Linked DNA regions of Homo sapiens: region 2 is linked to region 1. Evidence: promoter capture Hi-C in 16 types of primary human blood cells and fetal thymus (Javierre and others, 2016). All regions are on one chromosome and are shown on one strand. Each heading gives the region's core, a stretch centred on a gene start or on the middle of the fragment in contact. The rest is flanking DNA. Distances are from core to core; before and after follow the strand shown. Region 1 holds the start of MAN2B2 (mannosidase alpha class 2B member 2). Region 2 overlaps KIAA0232.

Region 1 (6,643 bases), core at 1,483-3,982:
AGATCATTCACTCAACAAATGTTAAGTGAGCACCTACTACACAACCAGCACTGTTCAGGCACTGGGGGTTCAGCAGTGAATGAAGCAGGCAACAATTCCTGCCTCCAGGGAGCTCTGCCACAAGTTTCCTGTCCAGGTCTTCACTGGGCCATGCAGGCCATGCTTCTCTTTGAGGGCTAGGAGACAGACCACTGGGTTTGGTGGGGTCCACCTGAAGAAGCATGGGACGCTCACAGGATATCCTGGAAAGGCCTGCCTCGAGTCAGGCATGCCTGGCTCAGAATCCCACCTGCCGCTTACAAGCTGTGTGACTGCAGGCCAGTGGCGTGCCCTCTCTGAACCTGGAATGTCTCTTTAACTTGAGGTAAGAACCCCACTATCTGGCAGCATCAAGTGGCCATTGGATGTCCGGCTCCTTCCCGTGACTCTGGCGGGGCCTGGTGGACGCCCTGCTCTCCCTTCTCCGCTTCACTCCCTTGAGCAAGTCACTTGGCGTCCCTGAACTTTATGTTCAGCAACTATTCTGAAGGCAGGTGGATACCTGGGAGGAAACTAAGAACCCCCGAGTATCGTCCTGGGTGCTCACGCCAGGGCTTCATTCTTGGCATGACTTTTCTGCAATGGGGCGGTCACCCCCGTTTAATAGAAGTGGAATCTGTGGCTCGCAGGGGCTAGTCGTGTCCCCTGGTGCGGGAGCAGGATGGGACCCAGGCTGCCTCACTGTGCAGCGGGGACTCTGACTCTCCATGCTGTATGAAGCAACCTGCTGCCTACCCTCAAACCACAGGGACTATCGCACCCTCATCAAGGGTCACCAGACCCTGGGCCCGGGGGCCAGGCAGATAACACAAATGAGAGAAGAGGGTGAGGGCTTGGGGACACCTGGGATGCCTGGTGTCAGGGGGCACTGCTGACTTAGTGCCAGCTGGCACGGAAGTGCACAGCTGGGTTGCCAGAGCTGGCAGTTTTTTCAAGAATAGACAGAAATTCAGGATTAAATTGAAAGCAATCTCTCCCAGGCATGGAACTCACCGTGAACCTTGATCTAAACAAGGCTGTGAATAGCCCGGTGGGGTTTTGGCCCTGTGGTTTATGCCAGCCTGGCCCTGGCCCTGGCTAGAACTGCCCCATTGAGTTTTCCACCTGGGTCTTTGCCAGGATACTGGGCCAACTGTGTCACCTGGTGACCTCATTACCTGGTATTTCTGCTGGTCCGAGGCGACGCCATCCCACCACAGCCGGAAAAACTCCTGCTCCACAGCGATGAACCGGCGCTGCTGGCCGCGGGCCAGCTCTTCCACCACTGAGGTGTAGACATTGGCGGCGTACGCCCGCATGCTTTCCTGGGGAGGGGACAGCATCATGCCAGCCCCGGTCCAACAAGACCAAGTGTCCCTGGGGCCCCTGCCATTCGCCAGGTGTGTCTGCATGGGGTTGGGGGCTCTGCCCTTCCTTCCCTGCTGCTCACCCCCCACACAGCTATTAGGCACTCGCTCCATACCAGGCTCTCCCCACTGGATGGGATCGTGCTCTCCTGGGGGAGAGGGACGGGGAAACAGACACCCTACATGGGCAGAGACAGGTGCCCTCCCAGCCCAGGGGTCAGGGACAGTTTCTCAGAGGGGTGAGCAAGCTGGGCCTTGAGTGTGCAATTTGGGGGGCTGGGCCCTGAGTGTGCCATTGAGGGGCAGCACAGGAAAGTCTTAGGCCTCAGTCGGGGTGTGGTCCAGTGACCCCAAAGGGGCCTGCTGGGGCTGAAATGAGGAAAGCTGGTGCTGAGAGGAAGAGCTCCCCAGGCTGTCCCTGGCGTCTAGGCGTCTGCCTCCCCAAGGCTGGGAGCTCCAAGGACCACAGCTGTAGTGTGTTCCCATCCGAGTCCCGAGGGCCCTGCACACAGGGTGCCCACAGAGTGCTTACATGAATGGAAGGAGCACCGAGCAGGGAGTCAGGAGGCATGAGGGTTATTCCCGAGCGACCTTGGGCAAGGCAGCAACCCTCTCTGGGCCTCGGTTTTCTCCTCTGGAAACTGGCTGTAGTGGGCATGCTTCCCCTACCCTTTACAGATGGGGAAACTGAGGCTTAGGGACCAAAGCCCCTCGCCCAAGGTCCTGAGCAGAACCAGGAGGTGACCACAGGTCCACCTTCACCCCTGTCCTGGGGGGCGGAGGACGCTGAGCTGGCCTCCAATATTCAGCCCCGCAGGGGACCAGCCCGGCCCCTTCCCAGCGGGCACCTGACATCCACCTGCTCTGAAGCCAGCCCCACCCTCTCCTGCTCCAGGCTTCCCTGGAAAATGGGTTACCACTGTCAACCCCCAAGCCCCTCCCCAGCCGGGAATGCAGGGGTCCCTCCAATCTGCACCACCCTCCAGAAGGGGAAATGGGGGTTCAGAGGCAGGAAGTGACTGGCCCGAAGTTAGCGACGCAACCAGTCAATGGCAGCGTGGGGTCCTGAACCCACTGAGCCTCCTTCTGCGCCGGCATCGGGCCCCGGGACGCAAACCCACACTCAGATCCCGCGGGGAGAGGGAAGCTGCAGCCTCAGGGGCGCGCGGGGCGTGGTCGGCACCTACCTGCACAGTGTAGACCCAGCCCACGTCCATGTGGCTGTGGGGCACCACGAAGGCCCGGATGGGGCCGGCGGACTGGACCCCTGGCGGTCGCAGCAACAGGAGCGGTGCCAGCAGCGGCAGCCAGCACAGCTGCCCCATCCCTGCGGCAGGCCGGGAAGGTGCCAGGCCCACTTCCGGGTCCGCGAGGGGCGGGGCGGCCGCGCGGGCGGGGACGCGGCCCATTGGCTGCGGGCGGGGGCGGGGCCCATTGGTTGCCGGCTGGACGCCGACCCCGGGAAGCTCGGGAAGGAGGAGCTGGAGGCGCGGGGCCCTCAGCGGGGCAGGGCGCCTGCTCTTTGCGGTTTAGCTCTCCATCCCCGTCTCCAGCTTTCTGGCCTTCCCTCCCTGTCCATCCTTTCAGCCCCATCTCCCCCAAGCCTGCCAGATCTCCCCCAACCAGAGGAGACCCCTCCTCGCCCAAAGCCCACGCTCTGGTGGTTCCTCTCGGAGCGTGTGCCTCTTCGCAATACCTGCATCCCGCCCTCTGGACTCGGCTCCGGGACTCTGAGGCTACCGTGCAAAATTCGGCTCAGCACGGACCCTGTGAGCTCTGCCACCAGGAACCTTCCCTGATAACCCTTTCCCTCCTCTCCCTGGCGTCGAAACCCCATCTGGGCGGCGCCATGGGGGGCTTGTTATGGGACTGTCTCCTTTTTTTTTTTTTGGACAGGATCTCACTCTGTCTCCCAGGCCGGAGTGCAGTGGCGCGATCAGGGCTCACTGCAGCCTTGACCTCCCGGGCCCAAGTGATCCTCCCACCTCAGCCTCCTGAGTAGCTGGGACCACAGGGGCACACTGCCACACCCAGCTAATTAAAAAAAAAATTTATAGAGATGGGGGCCTCACTATGTTGCCCAGGCTGGTCCCAAACTCCTGAGCTCAAGCGATCCTCCTGCCTCCGCCTCTCAAAGTGCTGGGATTACAGGCATAAACCAGCATGCCTGGCTCAACTGTCTCCATTTTAAGGAGGAGAACTGGCTTTCAGAGACAGTAACTGACTTGTCCAAGATCACGCAGTTAGTGGAGGAGCCAAGAGAAGCTTTCTGGGTTACTGGATGGTGACCTGGGGCGACATAGGTAACCTCGCTGAGCCTCAGTGAAATGGGTCCGATAGAGGAGCTGTGAACAAAGTAAGGATGCACCCAGGCTGAGAGCGTGAGCACAGCACCCCTTGCCTGCACTCAGGGGAGGTGCGGTCACATTGGTGCAGCCTGTTTGGGACTGTTGCCTGGAGTCAGCCCTGTCCACTACTCCCTGCCCAAGAAAGCAAGGGTCTGTGGCTTGGGGTTTACTGTCTGAGAACCACTTGGCTGTGCCCCTGCCTGGCATTTCCTAGCGGAACCAGAGCTGCAGCTCTGAGCAAAAGTGCTGGTCCTCTTGTCCATTATGTAACAAATGGAAACTGAGAACAGGTTCTCCAAGCAGGTCTCCCTCCTCCTTCTGTCCTGTCCACCCCCTGGGGACCCCTGCATCCCCATAGCCTCAGGTCAGATGGTCTGAGCCTGACGTGGACAGTACTCACTAACACATGTCCCCATGACCGGCCAGGCTCACAGCTGGGCTCCACTCTCCAGCCTCTGCAACCAGGTGCGGCCACGTGGCTAAGTGCTAGTCAATGGGATGGGTGGGGGCGGGCACTGTGCTCCTCTTCCAGGCTGGCCCCTAACAACCTCCTGTGGGTGAGCCCTGCTCTCTTACTCACCCACTGCTCCAGTGGAGGGCACTCCGAGGACCTCAGGGAGGTTAGAGCCACCAATGGAGGCTCTGAAGAACCACATGGAACCATGAGGAACCCAAAGAGCTGTGACAAGAGGGAGAAATAAGCTTTAATTGTGTTAAGCCACTGAGTTTATCGATAAGGCAGTGTCACAATCTTTGGCAGACTGTATCTGCCAAAGATGGGCTCCACAACATTACCCACCCCCCAAGCTCTTTGTAGAATTTGGTTGACGAGAAAAGCCACACTCTAAAATATCTCAGAACGTTTATTCTAAGCCAAATAGGAGTGACCATGGCCTGTGACACAGCCTCAGGAGGTCCTGAGAACAGGTGCCCAAGGTGGTTGGGCTATAGCTTTATACATTTTATGGGGACAGAAGTTACAGGCAAAGACATGAATCAATATATGTAAAGTATACATTGGTTTGGCCCAGAAAGGTGGGACATCTTGAAGTGGGTGGGTGGTGCTTCCAGGTCAGAGGAGGATTCAAAGATTTCCTGATTGGCAATTGGTTAAAAGAGTTAAGCTTTACCTGAAGAGTTGGAGTCGGCAGAAAGAAATGCTTGAGTTAAGACAATGGGGATGTGGAAGCTAAGGTTCTTGTTACATAGATGAAGCCTCCAGTTAGCAGGCTTCAGAGAGAATAGATGTGCATGTCTCTGGGGACCTTAAAAGGTATCAGACTCTCTGGAAAAGAGCTAGTAAGTAAGGAGATTCTCTACAGAATGCAAGTTTCCCCCACAAGAGATGACTTTGCAAGTCCATTTCAAAATATGTCAAAGAAAATTTATTTTGGGGTAAAATACTTTGATTTCCTTTAGGGCCTGCTCTCTGTCGTGTGTTGCTATACCAGAGTCATGTTAGAATCGGGTATCTGATTGCTACAAAAGTGTTCTGTCAGTCTTAGGAGGATCTCTATGTTAATGTTAATGCTGGTCAGCTGTGCCGAAACTTAAAGGGAGGAGGCTATGATGAGGCATGTGTGACCTCCCACTTCCCATCATGGCCTGAACTAGTTTTTTGGGTTTCTTTGGGGTCCCCTTGGCCGACAGGGGGTCCATTCTCTCAGCTGGGGCTTATAATTTTATTTTTGATTTACAATATGATCTTGACATTCTTCCTATTAGGAGATAGGGTCTATGTCTCCTCTCATTGAATCTTGTTTATTTATTGTTTTTTATTTTATTAATTTTTGTGTTTTTTAGAGATAGAGTCTTGCTCTGTTGCCCAGGCCAGAGTGCAGTGGTGGACTCCTAACTTACTTCAGCCTCAAACTCCTAGGCTCACGTGATCCCCCTGTTTCAGCCTCCTGAGTAGCTGAGACCACAGGTATGTGCCATCATGCCTGGCTAATGAAAACTTTTTTTTTTCTTTTTTTTTTAGATATAATATCCCGTTATGTTGCCCAGGCTGATCTTGAACTCCTGGGCTCGAGGCATCCTCCCACCACCATCTCACAAAGTGCTGAAATTATAGGTGTATGCCACCATGCCCAACTAATTTTTCTTTTCTTTTTTGTAGACAAGATCTCTCTATGTTGCCCAGGCTGGTCTCAAACTCCTAGCCTCAAGGGATTCTCCGAAAGTGTTGGGATTACATGCATAAGCCACTGTGCCTGGCCCATGGGCGGGCTTGTGACACACTTGTTACAAAGAGAATGTAGTGAAAGTTGTACTGTGTGACTTCCATGACATCCATGTTCACTGGAGCACTCGTGCCTGGAGGCCTGAGTTGCCCTGTCAGCAGTCCAACTACCCTGAGGCCACCATGCTGTGAGGAAGCCCAACCAGCCCACATGGGGCAGACCACAGGGAGCAGCTCAAGATCACCATGCTGTTTCAGCTCCAGCCCCCCATCTGACTACAACAACATGTGAGACCTCATGTCATTTTCTCTCCTGCCCACTGTATCACAGCTGTGTAGGGTTTCATTTGTACTTTCCTCAAGGCTCTTGCGTGAGCTCTTGCTGCAGCTAGTCTCAGGCTTGAAGGTGATACTCACAACCCCCTCCTGGATTATTCATTCAGATCCCTTTCACCCTCAGCTAGACCCATGCTGGACTAGATAGCTTACCTGGTGGGTTGCCCCAGATCCTCACCAACGAGGATGAGCCCCTGGTGACCATTCCCTTCTTGAGCCATAGCTGCTCACTTGCCTATTTGCTGACTACATCAGGTGAAAGAGTCCTGAGGGACACCCATGTGGGTGGCACACAGTCTTCTCTGCTTCCATTGTGTGACAGCAACCCTACCTCCTCTGATGGTTCAGGTCAACTGCCCCTGCTCGATGGGTGACTCTTCCCCTGCCTACTG
Region 2 (6,643 bases), core at 1,120-3,619, 300 kb before region 1:
ACTTATTAGGTAAACAAAAAAAAAAAAGATGAAAAGTGTGCCCACCCAAGGAGCAACAGGGTCAGCTCTGCATTTGTAATGCAATGCCCTCGGGCAGTAGTGTAGAGCCAAGACTGGGGAGAGAGCTGGGGATTCTTCAGGAAGCACTGGCAGTCAACAGTCAAGGGGGTTTGGAAGCGGGGGAGAATGCAGACTCAGAACAAAGGCCAGAGAACAGGAAGTCTGCACCCACAGGCCTGGCTGGTTCCTGGGAGAGGTGGGGTCCACTCACATGACTCCCAGGTTTTTGACTACAGTGACAACTGGAGGTGGTGGCTGTTTGTAAGTTAATGACGAGGAGGAGGACAGTCCACTTACCCTATTAAAATCTAACAGGCGCTCTTCATTACTGGGTGTCTCTTTAGCATCTGGATATTCTTCTAAACCACTCTCTCCCTTGGCATTTGTGTAACATTCTTAATCATTTGGAATGGAGAAGGGAAAAGAGGGAAAGGGGGAAATTCCATTAAGACACAGTTATGAAACATACATTCTTGTTTCATTTTTCACTAAAAAGCTACATCAGTTAGGTCTCCCAACCCTTCGGAGGTTTTAAGTCGTCACTAAAAGCACAGCCAGGCAGGTGTGTAAGAGAAAAAAAACGCTATGCTGACAAAAAATTCTTGGTTTGGTGAGTTAAAAAAAGAAATAGGCCAGCATAACCATACACTCCTGTTATTCTACCAGGAGGCACTCATTGGACAAGCTTCTATTCACACCTGTAATGTGATCGGCCCTGGGAACACACGACAGAGAGACCCACAGGGCCCATGCTCTCCACAACAAATGGATGGAGGAGACAGATGGTGCATCATAGCACGTTCATAGGACAGAGGAACAAAGGAAGCTCAGACAGAAGGGAACGCAATGGAGAAACGACACAGGGTCACGTCCTTGTGTGTTCTTCCTCAACAACATACTGAACCATGTATCACATCTATGAATAGGAAAAAGAAATGGTGCTAGCGATTCCATCAGGCAAATGGCCCCACAAAATGGGAAAAAAACTGGGATGAGAAGATATCAAACAAATCCAACGAGCCCAGTAGTTCTCAACCCTGGCTGCATATTCTCATCATCTGGGGGCTTTAGAGAGGCTTAGACTCCTGCCAGAGATTCCAAATGAACTGTCCTGGGCAGGGGCTGGGCACTTTCTGAAAAGCAGATTTGCTCCCAGGCAATTCTAATGCACTGAGAACTGCTGGTCTTCATCCAGAACAGCCTCTTACTCCCCTTACCTCCATGAGAAACATAGCTGGGGCAGAGGCACAGTGCAGAGTAAAAGGAGGAACTTGGCCAGGGTTTTGGACTCTGGCATTGACATTCATGGTGCATTAAGTCCTTTAACACCCTTGAGCATCTACTTCCTCAAAACCAGATCACACCCCCCATCCCCTGCCACAGAGTTGCCACAAGGTAGTTTGACGAGATGACATGCCTGCCCCTTGCACAACACCCCAAAGGACAAGGCTGGAGCAAGTGACTGCTGCGCCCTTCTACCTTGGCACAGAGTAGCGAGGCTGTGCCAAGGGTAAGACCATCTGGGCCCTGCTGGGCTGCTTCCTGCAGCTGCACTGGCCACATGGAAGACTCTCCACAGCTGTTCTCTCTGACGGCTCCAAGAACTCCAAGTTACTAGTTGAGGTTCATGAGAATACCCCAGGCTCTGGGATTAGACAGACTTCAGTCAATTCCAGGTCATGCTATTTACTTGTGATGTAACTTTGCACAAATTATTTAACCTCTTTGAGCCCTAGTATCCTCATCTCTAAGATGAGAACATCACCATTTTCCCTCCTACATTTCTGTGCAAATTCAAAGAGGTGAAGCCTCAAGCACAGTGCCGGGCACACACATTGCACCCATGACCGCTGCTTATCAAAGCCATAGGCTTGGAGGCGTGGTTGCCCTAGGGCGGCTGGGGAGGATGCCATGTGTCCTCTGCTGAGGCTGGGAGGAACCCTGGCTTCATCTCTCCTAAGGAGGCATCTTTTCCTTGGCTGACTTCTCACTCCATGGCCCACTCCATATGGCCACCACTTATACTGGCTGAGGGGCATGGAGTGGATAGGACATGGTTTCCTTGACAAGGATAGCTCAGAGGCAGGCAGGCCCATCTCCACACCCCACTCCTTCATTTTCTCTTCCTGCTTTAGGAATTCTGTACATACAAGAGGGTTTTATTGTGCCACAGGGTATTTGGAAAAGGTGATGCTGAACTGCTGCTGATAGTCTTCATGATGCTCAAGTTGACCACCACCCTGTTTCGGGCTATGACATGCCAGCCACTGTTCTAGGCACTTTACCTTACAATGAGGGCATTCTTCTAGCCTCCTTTTATACATACAGACTACAGAGGCACAGAAAGGCTCAGTCAGCACCCAAAGCCTAATAGCTGGGGAAAGAAGCTCTGGATTCCAATACAGTTCTCAATCCTGGGCCTTTCACCACCTGTCTGTACTGCTTCCCTGCAGGACTCTCTGTCTTTAATGCTAAAATCATCCAGACGCTTACATTACTCGAGTCTTGAAAGCACTGAAAATCCAGGGGCGTGAGCTGTGGAGACTGCTGTTTGGGACGGCACTCCTGGTGCACAGAGTCTACAAGGCCCTCTGTGGTCTGGCTCCCAGCTGCCTGGCTGGCCTCATCCCCACCACACTCCCATGCCATCCCTTCTTTGCCAGTCATGTTGGGGGCATACCCAATGCATTCCTGTCCCTGCACAAGCCACTGCTGCCTGGCACCTCTCCCTGCAGGCAGCCCCAGCTGTCACATGGTCTGTGCCCTATTTCCTCAAGTCCCTGTTGAGAAGGTACCTGAGCAGGGGGAGGACAGGGACACGATCTGTTTGCCTATGCATTCCCAAGTCTAGAACAGTGCCTAACCCAAGTGCTGAAGGGATGCACATATGAATGCGCAGCAAGGCCAGCAGGGGGCAGACTGCACAAAGCTGGGGCTTTCTTATATGGTTACCTGAACAAGCTGCCTCTTTTCTGAGCCTGTTTCCTCGCCTTACTGTAAAGGGGACAATGCTACTCTTCCTTTCCAGAGATGCTGTGAGCTCCCAGGTCAGCCCCTGGCTCAGAGCAGCAACTGCTTGTGATGAATCATATCCAATATTAGAAGCATTAGGAGTCCCCAGCCACTTCTGCTGAGTAGGTAAGTGACTACCTGTTTTCTTGGCTATCCTTCTGAGACTAAATGCCCCAACCCACATAAGCTAAAGAAGGATGCTTCATGATGCTACAGGGCAAATATGCAGGGACTTAACTCACAGTGTGAGCTAAAGGTCATTCAAAAGAAATAATTACCAGTATTTATGCACTGAGAGTTTCTCTATATACCACTTCACTGTAAAAACAAAAATATTATGTACAAACACCAGTATCCACTAAGAGACTGTACAGATAACCAGGAACCTAGAGCTAAGAGGTGAAACTGGATTCTTTACTAACTAATGACAGAAAACTGGACTAAGGGTGCTAAGGTTGCCCTTTACTAAAGAAACATGAACTCTGTGTCTCAAAATCATCCTATGCCACTGCAAGGAATTGGTTCTTTTCCACAAGGTGGCATCCTCCTCTCCCTCCTAGCTCTTCCTGAGAGGTCCTCTGTGGCACAGCTGTGGCCACATCCCACCTTCATTCCATTAACTGTGTCTGTGTCTTGTACTTGCCCAGTTTACCAGACTGGACACACATGAAGGGAAGCTCTGTGTGTCCTACTCCTACTGCCCTGGCATCTACCTTGGTACCAAGTGCAGGCAGCTGCTGTAGAGGGCAAAACTTCTGGACCACAAGAATCACAACCTACATTCTAGCCCATGCTTAATAGTTAACTGTGTGATTTCGGGCAAATTACAGTACTAAACTTGAGACTCAGCTTCCTCATCTGAAAACTAGCGGGGGGCATCTCCTAAGGTTCTTGTGGGAATTATGTAAAAGAAAAGCTTGAGAGCACCTTGCACGCAACCAAGGCTGTCCAGATATGAGCTAATGGTAGGGCGGCAGCAGCAACGGGCCTTCAATAAACGCTGTTCAATCAACGAAGACGCTAACAGTGAAGACTCAGCTCTACGCTCTCCTTATGACCCAGATGAACCTCTGGGAAGGAGGAAGGCAGGGTCCTGGGAAGCTGTCTGTGGCTACAGACCAGAGAACAGCAAACGCTCCACTCCTAAAGAGTCAACCTGGCCAAGCTGGCCTTCCATCCCATCAGCTATAGCCCATGCTGCCGAGGGATGCCAGGGAGGCTTTCCGAGGACAACACAGGCGTGTGCAGGGCATCGTGGCTAGTGAGAGAGAAGTCACTTGGCTCCACACTAACTACAAATTAGCTGAGGGGATGTGACAAACACGTGAACCCGTAAATTTAAATGCAAGAGATTTGCATAACCCCTTCGGGACTCTGACAGGAGACTGGTGTTAAATAAATGTGGTAGCCAATAGAAGCCCAGGAGACCACAATCTGGACAAGCTGAACTTCTTGAGCTAATCAATTCTGGTTGCATCCTTAGTTCCTACTTCTCCCAAAATTTCAATTCAGGGTTTCTTAACAACTTCTGGGTGTCTACCTGGAAGGCCTCACAGACTGCTCATTCAAAAAATACCCTAAACTAAAATCTTCCTCACCGCATCAGCGCCCACTCCTGTCTCCCTCTCTACCTAGACTCCCATAACTACTCCTCATAGAAAGTAATCCAACAAACTCCTCCTCTACAAAACCTCTCGGTCCTGTTTCCTTTTCTCTGTCCCCGCTTTGATTGCCTCAGTCCAGACCTTTAGCGTATGCCTCCCAAACTACTGCAAGGGCTTAAAACCCTGGCCAATAGCCTTCAGTTTTTCAATTCCATTTCCACTCTGTTACTAGAATTGTTCTAAACAACATCTGACCTTGACAACCTCCAATTTAAATCCTGTCAACGGCATTCCCTTCCTGCATGTCAGACGCTACCTAACCTAGCCAAGCCCTCAAACCTTCTGACAGGCTCCTGCCCTGTCTGTCTCTCCCGCGTCAGCTACAACTCAGCTGAGCCATGGAGCCCTGTGCTTTCCCCTGGCGGCGACCCTCCTGCCTCTGTGCAGGCAACTCTCTTCACAGGGACTGCCCGCTGTTTCCTCCTCTGTGACTCAGTGGTGGCTTATACACACCTCATCCATGGTCAGTAACGCTTGGATATATTTCCATGCCTTTCCCCTCCATCAGATTGTGGCTGTTTCAGAGCAGGGCCCAGTTCTCATTCCTCCCTGTGTCCCCAGTGCATGACAAAGTGCTACCCACACAGAAACCTCTTGGTAAATGTTTCTTGGACTGATATTCATAGAAAAAGAAATTATTGCTCTTAACAAATTACAAATTGCAATGAATAAATGAACTAACAAAGGTCTCCTTACCTTCACACTCTGATGCAGGAAAAAGAGGAGAGTACAAGGCTTTTTCCCACCAGGTCTGTTTTTCTTGACTTCTATTCATTCCTTGTATATCAGTGTTCAATACAGGGAACTGTTTAGATTAAACCAAATACAGAAAAAGTTTATAAACTTTCAGGTTAGAGGAAGAATATTCAAGCATTATTAACTACAGATTATAAACCCAGAACTTTTAAACTGGTGAGGTTTTTTGATTTTTCTTTCTTTCTTTTTGAGATAGGGTCTGGCTCTGTCACTCAGGCTGGAGTGTAGTGGCACGATCTTGGCTCACTGCAACCTCCACCTCCAGGGCTCAAGTGATCCTTCCACCTCAGCCTTGCAAGTAGCTGGGACTACAGGCGGGAACCACCATGTCTGGCTCATTTTTTGTGCTTTTTGTAGAAATGGGGTTTCGCCATGTTGGCCAGGCTGGTCTCGAACTCCTGGGCTCAAGCAATCTGCCAAGCTTGGCCTCCCAAAGTACTGGGATTACAGGCATGAGCCACCATGCCCAGCCAACTGGTGAGTTTTTATAATGTTCTGAAAAAAAGTGCATTTTAAAAGCCAGCGTGTTCACAGTGTATAAAGAAAGTATTGCTTAAGAAGTACTTAGATGGGAAGCGACATGAAAATCTTAACTAAAAAAACTCTTACAAGCCCAAAATATAATGTAATAAAAACGCTCCCAAGCAAGGCAAACTTCTAGATTCCCCAAGTGCATACAGGTAATGGGGAAGCCCTGAGCCTTTACTGGCATGAGGTGCTCTGAAGAGAACAGGGGGAACCCTCTTCTCCCTCATACATTCAGGCAGAAGTAAGTAAAAGAAGAAATGGAATCAAAGAAACTTCCTTTTTTTTTTTTTTCCAAGACAGAGTCTCACTCTGTCACCCAGGCTGGAGTGCAGTGGCACGATCTCAGCTCACTGCAACTTCTGCCTCCAGTGTTCAAATGATTCTCGTGCCTTAGCTTCCTGAGTAGCTGGGACTACAGGCATGTACCACCACCCCGGCTAATTTTTGTATTTTTAGTAGAGACAGGGTTTTGCCACGTTGGCCAGGCTGGTCTCGAACTTGTGACCTCAGGTGATCTGCCCGCCTTGGCCTCCCAAAGTGCTGGGATTACAGGCGTGAGCCACCATGCCTGGCCCAAAGGAAATTCTTATAGGCACAGTTATTGACCTAAGTGTCTTAAAATT

Evidence for each region. Contacts are between HindIII fragments. The CHiCAGO score rates a contact against its expected background, and 5 or more counts as called.
Region 2: a contact is called between a fragment that was not itself captured here and the fragment with the promoter of MAN2B2 in region 1, in 1 of 17 cell types (naive CD4 T cells). The highest score is 5.5, in naive CD4 T cells.

The regions. Positions count from the first base shown.
Region 1 is chr4:6,571,278-6,577,920 of GRCh38, reverse strand. MAN2B2 (mannosidase alpha class 2B member 2) reads right to left here and starts at 2,732. Exons shown (of 19, transcript NM_015274.3): 1 at 2,573-2,732; 2 at 1,197-1,343. The coding sequence starts at 2,710. LOC105374365 (a long non-coding RNA gene) reads right to left here. Exons shown (of 3, transcript XR_925098.3): 2 at 4,314-4,412; 3 at 3,583-3,730. RefSeq lists a silencer at 2,483-2,942 and enhancers at 2,231-2,999, 3,000-3,767, 3,768-4,536. The HindIII fragment of the contact is 10,372 bases long and covers 1-3,652 here.
Region 2 is chr4:6,870,472-6,877,114 of GRCh38, reverse strand. KIAA0232 reads right to left here. Exons shown (of 10, transcript NM_014743.3): 8 at 5,433-5,541; 9 at 358-455. Among named protein-coding and RNA genes, the nearest start is that of TBC1D14, 36 kb to the left of the region's middle. RefSeq lists a silencer at 2,897-3,056. The HindIII fragment of the contact is 3,243 bases long and covers 748-3,990 here.